3 separate regions of the Homo sapiens genome follow, and all the other regions are linked to region 3. The links are contacts of gene promoters, found by promoter capture Hi-C in human tissues and cell types (Jung and others, 2019). All regions are on one chromosome and are shown on one strand. The core of a region is centred on a gene start or on the middle of the fragment in contact, and the rest is flanking DNA. Distances in the headings are between cores, read along the strand shown.

Region 1 (2,700 bases), core at 138-2,637, 550 kb after region 3:
AGAGACCATGGCCAGAGGCATGCCACACCTTCAAGAGATTTGAAGCAATGAAAGGATCACTACAGATGGACAAGAAAAATCTCTCGCCATAGGTATGAGGTTCTAGTAGGCAATATAGTGTGGACTGCTTACTGCTCCAGCATTCTGGAATACAACCCCATTTCTCAAATCCTTAGTTGAGAAAAGACTCATGTTAGCTTAAGCCAGGAAAGAATTTACTCAACAGTGCTTCCAAAAACCCAAGGGCAAGCATGCAGTGGATCTCAAAATAAACTGGAATCTGAGAGAGACAGCCATGAGGAATCTGACTCTCCTATCTCTAGTCATAATGGGTCTTGTTTCTTCTCTTTTTACACCTTGGCTTCCTCTGCTTCCCTGGACACACCTTTTGAAAATATAACCAATAATGATGTTTATCCACCTGGAGAAGACTAGATCTCTCTCCACTTCATTCCGTCTTCCTAAGAAATATTCCTATTGGCCCAACCTGGCCCAGTGACTATTGGGCCCAATCTGGGCCCAGTGACTGTGGCCGGGGTTGATTCATATCTTACAAACGTGGCCACCAGGAGCCATGGTGGGGGATGGGGAGAGCAGTTTCCAAAAAAAGGCTAGGGTTAGGATGAGGTAAGTTTCTAGACACATAATCCAATAGGTTTTCAGCATGGTTCCTGATTAAGGACATGGCCCGTAAAATATACCAGACCTTCCGTATGCCCTTAGTTGGATATAAATACAAGCCAAAGTAGACTGAAGAGGGGGGCCTCATGGTTCGAGACCTGAGTTTGTGTTGCTGCTTTGTGGCCTGAGGCATGGTCCCCTCTCTGGACATCTGTTTCCTCTTCTGAAACATGAAATTGCATTAAGCCAGTTCTACATAAAAGTATCACAAATCTTATTAAAATTCTAATATTTATAACTCATTGACAATAAGACTACTCAGGTTAAACTTAATTAGAAATGGTCTTTATCTTTTATTGAAGTTATAACAACTGATGTTTCCGGTGAGAAGTTCTGATGGGGTGATATTAATGTTTCTGAATACTAAAAGTCAGCGAGAGTAAATTCATGACTAATTCATAAATGCAGTTTTGTGGACAAACTGCTGCAAAATAGAATCCATTCAGGGGTGAATAATAATAATAATAGCTACCATGATCTTAGCCAGTAATAGCATTGGCTGTCTGCCAGGCTTTGTGCTAAGATTTCATTTAGTCGTCACAGTAATACTGTAAGGTACATACTATTTTTAATCCCTGTTTTACAGATTTAAGAAAATTGAACTTTGGCTTAGAAAGGCCATCCAGTAAGAATGTGGCTGGACCAAGTTTCAAACCCACTTCTATTGAAAAAGATTGAAAACTGTTGCATTAGCTGATCTCTGCCTCTTAAACTAAATGTGATGAAATTAATAAATTATACAATTATACAATATGATGTGTGTGTATATTGTATACTTTTCATCTCTGATACTCCACACATTCAATGCATGTGTCAGAAAGGCATAGATGTATATTAATGTTTAAATATTACCTATTCCCTTGTCTGAAATGCATGACAGTGTTTCAATCACAGAGCCAGGCACATGCAGGGAATTTTGCAAGCACAAGCTCAACTATATGAGAGTGCAAAGTTAAGTTTTTATTGGCCTGAGTATGGTGATTCAAGCCTTGATGTTTTACTACTTGGGCCATGTGGTTTGGGAGGTGCTGTTGTAGGGTGTGGGGGTCTGTGACTGCTCACGTGTGCACACGTGTGTGTGTGCATGGCTGGGTATTTTCCAGAGTGGAACAAGAAGGATTAACTTTCAGCATTTGGCTCACCCTAACCTATAGCAGATGGGCACTGGCTTTAAGTTCTCATAAAAGTCAACCCTAGAGACTTGTTAAATAATTTATCCTCAACTTTGGAAGAGCAAAGGAATAAGGTGATTAGGAAAAATGGAAAGCCACATGATAATGTGCCATTGATGGAGTGGGGTTGTCTTTCGCTGTGGTACATGGTGAATGTAGCAGCGAATGAATTTGGAAAGTAGTGGGGAGAGAGTCGGACCTGGTTGGGAGAGCCCTTGGAGCAGAGAGCTCCTGACTTTTATCCCCAGCAGCTGCAGCAGAGAAAGTGAGAAAACCTCCATTCTTTACCCAGGGAATGGCCCCAACTTTAAGACATATTGAACCATGCTAATTTTAAGGCCTCCCAATATAACCATTTTATTTCATCCAGCTGTGGGGCCTGACTTTGGGCTGGAAAGGAGAGCCAGAAAAACAGGTAGGGCAGAGCTGGAAAAATAAATCCACAGGATGCCTGTCAGTACCTGGTTTTAAGCTGAGGGTGTGGGAGCTGTAGCAAAGTCACATGGGTGATTTAACATAGACCACCACCTCCTACTGGCTTTCAATGACCTCCTTTCCTGTTCCCCACTGCCAGCAGCTGGAGAAGTGAAAGTCCTTCAAGCTTCAATCAAGAAGCTCTCCTACTTTCAGTCCCTTTTAATAAGATGCCATGAGCATAGCTCACTTGTTAAATAGTCACTCATCCATTGAAACAACTTTAAGGAGGCAGGGCTAGTCAGGATCCATGGTTGCAAACAACAGAAACTATTTCTAGTTAATTTAAGCAGAAAAGGAAGTTATTGGAAGGAGACGGAATAACTTGCAAAACCAAGAATGTGCATGGAGAACTAAGATTGGGCGATGTCCA
Region 2 (2,700 bases), core at 46-2,545, 670 kb after region 3:
GAAGGAAACCAGCCCCAGTGAGAGAAATGTCTACTGGAAAGTAAATGAGCCCTTCTAATGAGCTGCTTACATGGCTGCACCTGATATTCCAAGTATTTCCTCCTGTCCTAGCCCACTCTAGGGCAGAATCCCCAACCATCTGTATGTGAAAATACAGAGATGGTTATTCTATGGAAAAAACCACTAACTCCATGAGTTCTAGAATGCCTACAAGATCTATTGAAGATTAGGCATCAATAACCAATGTCAATGCTGAGCAAAACACAAAAAAGGTTTCCTAAAACAGAGCTCGGTGTTTGCTGTTCACTTTAATTTTAGCAGACTATTCAATCCAACTGGGGCCGTGGGTGAGAAGAATTAGATAGTCTAGAAATGTAGCTGTATTATGTTGTGTCTGTTTGCTCTTTCTTTTTCTTTTTTAATAGAGATAGTAGACTCACTGTGTTGACCAGGCTGGCCTCAAGCCATCTTCTCGCCTCAGCCTCCCAAGTAGCAGGGCCTACAAGTGTGTGCCACCAAGCGGAATTGTGTCTATTTTCTAATCTGCTTCATTAATGAGCAGATTTATTTGGGTGCCATTAAATAATGATAAATTATGAAGCTGCAAACAAAACTTGAGGCACCTGAAATCTTTCTGATAGTATTGTCAAATGCCTTCATAATACTGTCAACCGTACAAAATCAGGAATGCTCTTATAAACTATACTGTTAAAGATAAGGGATTCCCATCCCAGCTATTATGCACAGCTTGATTAATCTTTTTAATTAGAAAATTTGAAATATAATGCATAATATCTCAAAGAAGTTCCTGCCTAAGGCAATATTGTGTAAATTGTTTTTTTTAACGATCCTTTTTGAGTCTCATGTTGTTTTTGTTTCTTCTGCACATAATTATTTAATGTCTCTCCTTTGTTCTAGTCCTTGTGCAAACTTTTTTTTTTTTTTTTTTGGTGCTTTTTTATGGGCTTGTCTCTCTTTCTCACATTTCCTGCCATGGAGTAGGAGGATACATTTTTATTTTGTAATAAGGTTGCTTAAATCGCCTCCTCAATCTCTCTCTGGAGAACAGGGTTTCAATAAAAAAAAAAAACGTTTCATGGGCTCTTAGAATGTCTTTCCTTTGTTGCTCACTGCTTGGGAGATGGGAAGAAATGGAAACTGTTGTCGTAGATCTGGGTCTGGCAATGAAAAAAACATACAGGGCTAGGGAGATTAAATACAAATTGGGAGGGGTGGGGGATGCTCAGCACTTCTAACAGCAGCCAGCCCCCACCACCAACCTCCCTCCCTGGGGCAAACAGGAAAGATAAGTGGCTGTCCCGTTGGGTTAGTCTTCCCACACTCCCTTGCTGGCTGCACTTCTCTGCTCCCAGGGGCCAGTCTGTACAGGGGAGTTAGTGTTAGAGTAACTGCTTTTATCTCTCTTGAAAATATTTATGGCTAAACACTGGAAATTGCTCTGGGATGCATCCCTATAAATTTCAAGACCCCCACCTTTCCCTATCTTGAAATTCAAGATGAATTAATCCTAGAGTGAGAAAAGGAAGGAAGAACTTTCAAGGGTGAAACTTGATAGCAGTTTCTTATCTTATTGGCAACTCTCGATCGGGTGACCGATCGCTGACTGGGGAAACACAATTCCTGTAGAGAGGTTCAAAGCCTCCCAACAGAAACTGGAGATAGCTCAAAGATGCTTCACCCTGTTTTGGAGATAGTGACACCTCATTCTGCAGGAAGATGTGCCTACAAGCCTCCAGGAAAAGAGGCCGCCCACTCCAAAACCGCACCGTGGCAAGAAGGGAATATTTGGAATGCAGAACATTTGGATGCAGCCCCATCCAGGGCTTTGTGGAAATTCAGCTGCAAGGCCTCCTTTGTCTTGTGTGTGAATTTTAGGAGACTCCCTTTCATCTGATTCAAGCTGGGTTCTAAATGTCACATGAAGAATCCAGTTCGGCATTCAGACAAGACTTACCATCAGAGTGGCTTCAAAAGCTCAGGTGCCCCTAAGGCTCCTCACCCAGCCTGTTGCAGGGTGAGTCCCAGGCTTTGAGTGTAGGGTCACACTGACCTGCATTTGCTTTTGGCTCTGCCTGTTATCCATGGTGTGAGGAGGGTAAGTTTCTTAAACTCTCTGAGCCTCCTTTTCTTCATCTGTAAAATAGAAATAAGAAATTTATTTCATATAGTAATTGTGAGAACTAAATAAGACAACACGCATAAATCTCTTGCACAGTATCAGGGACAGAGTAATCCCTAGGGAAAAGCCAGTTGTCGCTGTCATTGGTGAAATGGTGATGTGATGGTTTCCCAGCCACCTCTGGGTTCTTGGTGATTTCAATCCTAGCAGAGGCTGAGAGAGTAAATGCTTACTGCAGAGCCTGCTTCTGGTGCCTGGCCCAGACCCAAGGATGGGCCCAATGTCTTGTTAGGAAATTTAGCCCACCTTGACATGTAAGGCACCAAAGCCTCCCCATCAGTGCTCTCTAAAAAGAATTTACATTACAGACAAATCTCCCTGACATATAAGTAACACATGTTGAGCACATAAATATCAGCATTTTGGCTGGAATCAAGTATCACAGTCTTATGCCGTCAAGTACTATTCATGACCCTCTTCATGAATCCTTGTCGTGAGACCTCAGTGGTGAGCAGCTCACATACATGACTGTAACTGATCTGACTTTCACACAATTAAAC
Region 3 (2,700 bases), core at 189-2,688:
GCAAATACCAGGAAGGAACAAGGATAAAGGAAAATGAAATTAGAATGAAGAACTGACAGTCTTGGTTTCAGCAGTCTGGACTCTGGAAGCGCCATGTGGGGCCTCCTTAGCCAGTTTAAATCGCTCCTGCGCCTAGTGTTTTAAAGCAAGCTGGGAGGCGAAGCGCGGGCGCTTGGGGACGCGGGGACCCGGGGACGGAATAAACTCTGTCGTGGGGCCCTCACTCTCGAGCTGCAGAGCTGGGACATTGTTGCTAAGTGACTACGAGCCAGGCAATTCACATCTCCCTGGGCCTCGGTTCCCCACCTGTAAAACAAGGGGGCTGGACCGGTCATCTATCCCGTTCATTTATAGACTTAGCTCCAAATACCGAATAAAAGACAGATATTTTAACTCCCAGTGGAAAGACAAGCCTCTAGTTGCAAAGATAAATGGGATTCGTAAAAGTGATCACCACGCGAGATTATTTTTCGAATCGCCTTCCCTTCTCCTGACACGCGGGACTATTAAACGTGTGTGTGTGCTGGGCCATTTCTTTACTGAACTCCAAACTAACACCACCGAGCGATAAAAAACAGGAGAAGGTGATGGAGGCTTAATCGCTAGGAGAGGAGGCGGCGTGGCTGCTGCTTTGAGGAGTTCACTTTGAATCAAGCGGCCGCGGCGATTGGCTGAAAAGCACGTGGTGCGCGCCCCGCAGGACTGCGCCCCGGCTGCCCCTGCAGTCGCCTGGCTTAGGGCAGAGTCCAGCCGGGGGTGCCGCACCCACTGGGGAGTGGGGAGGGAGGACACATAGGAAATGCCTGGGGCTGGAGTCTCTTTGGCTCTCTGCCAGCAAGAAACTTAAACGTCCTGGCTTGCTCAACCCGAGTGTCCCTAAACTGTCCAGACTTTTGCCCGTCCATTGCCACTATCTCTCCCCACTCTGGGTGTCCTACCCAAGGCGCTGTCTATGCGTGCCCAGGGCCTGTCCTGCGGATACCCAGCTCGCCCCTTGCAGCCCTTTTTAGAGCATCTCGCGGGCTCTGGCATCACCAAGCGCACAGCCCCGGGCTGCGCTCCCCTAAGGTGGGTCCCTCAGATCCGGGGCTGTCCATTAACCAGGCTGGCCCAAAGAGGCGCAGACACTCGAACCCGGGAAAACTTATTTTATTCTCGGTTCCCGGGGTTGCAGCTGCCAGCGGCTGAGACAGTGCGTCCGCTTTGTCTCTCTGCACTCCCCGCAGCCCCCCTCTCCCGCTTCCTCTCCCGATTAACTCCCCCGACACGCTCTTCTCTAGCTCCTCTCCTCCTCCCACTCCTTCTCCTCCTCTTCCTCCTCCTACACCACAGGCCGCGCTAATGCGCTTCCTCCCTCCCCCGGTGTCGGTCTCTTTGCATACGCGCCCCCTCCCCTCCCCGCCGCGCCACTTATAGCGGGGCGCACGGCGGCGGGGCGCAGACTGCTCTGGCAGCCGGAGAGGAGGCGGTGCGGCGGTGGCGCTGCGGAGACCCGGTCCAGACGCCTGGCGGCCGCCGGCACACAAGGCGCTTTCTAGCTCCCTCCCCCGAGCGCACAGCCCGCCTCCTTCCGCGGCGCCTGCAGTGGCAGGCTTGCTCTGCCCTACCGTGACGCGCTCCGGAGACGCTCTGCGGGTCCTGGACACCGGGTCCGCGGCGTGGGGACGACAGACGGAGGCGAACGCCATCGGTAGCCGGTCCGCGAGCCATCGTTCGGGGCGCAGTCCTCTCCCCGGCTGGCCCTCCTTTCTCCGGGGCATTCGCCACCGCTTCCCTGGGCTGAGACGACCGGTTCGTCGCCTCCTTGCCCGTGACCGTCGCTAGAACTCAGTTGTGCGTTGCGGCCAGTCGCCACTGCTGTAAGTTTCCCCCACTGCCCCGGACCTGTTGCAGGCGCTGCGGGCTTCAGGGGCTGCTTCGGCTGCAGGGGTGTGTTCGCGAGGGGTGAGCGTGCTCCGAGCACTCGGGAGCTTCGACTAGAGGGCAAGGGGAGCTCTTCTCGGTGCGGAGATCACGGTGCCCGCCGCTGCCCTCCCACAGCAGGCAGAAGCCGGGCATCGCCGGAGAGGTCGACCGGCCTCCCCTCCGCGGTGCAATGTCTGGGGCGAGCCGCTGGGGAAGCGAGGAGCCGAGCTAAGGATACAGTCAGCCTCTCTCCTCTGCGGAAAGCAGCGCTTTCCTGGGGGTGAATGTCGCGCTGCGTCGCTCCCCGCAGCCTCCAGGGCCGAGCGCGCGGGATGGTTGGCCCACGTTGCATCCTCCCCGGCTTGGAGGAAAGTTGGGGCCATGCACAGACACCCTGAGTGCGGGCATGTTCACTGCGGCGGAAATGTCTATAGAGAATGAATGAAAACTGCTTTCTGAAAAACTAGTTTCTTGATCTGTCGTGTTAACATTATTAGTTACAAAGGATAGGAATTGGTGGGCCTGGAGATGAAACACTGAATTTATCCACATGCGGTTTGGTGTCACACAGGCATGGCCAGCTTGTTAAATAGCGTTGCAAGTGTTAATAAAAAGACTCTGGCAAGAAGCTACTTTTGTTAACAAGATCTTTATAATGTTCTATTGTTACCGGTAATGTAAATGCCCAGAAAAAAATCTGCTTAGTTTCTCTTTTGATTGGATTGAGATCAGGTTCAAAACCTGGAGAAGGGTGCGGGACGCTAAGCATTGGAGGCAGAGAGCCTGAGTTAGGAG

Evidence for each region. The method cuts DNA at HindIII sites, captures the fragments that hold promoters and counts their contacts. A contact is called where the count stands out against the background at its distance.
Region 1: a fragment that was not itself captured here is called in contact with the fragment with the promoter of ENC1 in region 3 in 1 of the 25 tissues and cell types used here (mesendoderm cells).
Region 2: a fragment that was not itself captured here is called in contact with the fragment with the promoter of ENC1 in region 3 in 1 of the 25 tissues and cell types used here (H1 embryonic stem cells).

Annotation. Positions count from the first base shown.
Region 1 is chr5:74,092,774-74,095,473 of GRCh38, reverse strand. The region is part of intron 1 of LINC02122 (long intergenic non-protein coding RNA 2122); the gene reads left to right. Among named protein-coding and RNA genes, the nearest start is that of LINC02122, 9.0 kb to the left of the region's middle. The HindIII fragment of the contact is 5,035 bases long and covers 1-2,700 here.
Region 2 is chr5:73,968,027-73,970,726 of GRCh38, reverse strand. It overlaps LOC105379034 (a long non-coding RNA gene), which reads right to left. Exons shown (of 4, transcript XR_001742745.1): 2 at 2,072-2,154. Among named protein-coding and RNA genes, the nearest start is that of LINC02122, 130 kb to the left of the region's middle. The HindIII fragment of the contact is 3,353 bases long and covers 1-2,700 here.
Region 3 is chr5:74,639,466-74,642,165 of GRCh38, reverse strand. It overlaps ENC1 (ectodermal-neural cortex 1), which reads left to right and starts at 1,438. Exons shown (of 3, transcript NM_003633.4): 1 at 1,438-1,859. It also overlaps a transcript of HEXB not described here. RefSeq lists enhancers at 1-452, 453-1,168, 1,630-1,989 and a silencer at 1,330-1,589. The HindIII fragment of the contact is 27,146 bases long and covers 1-2,700 here.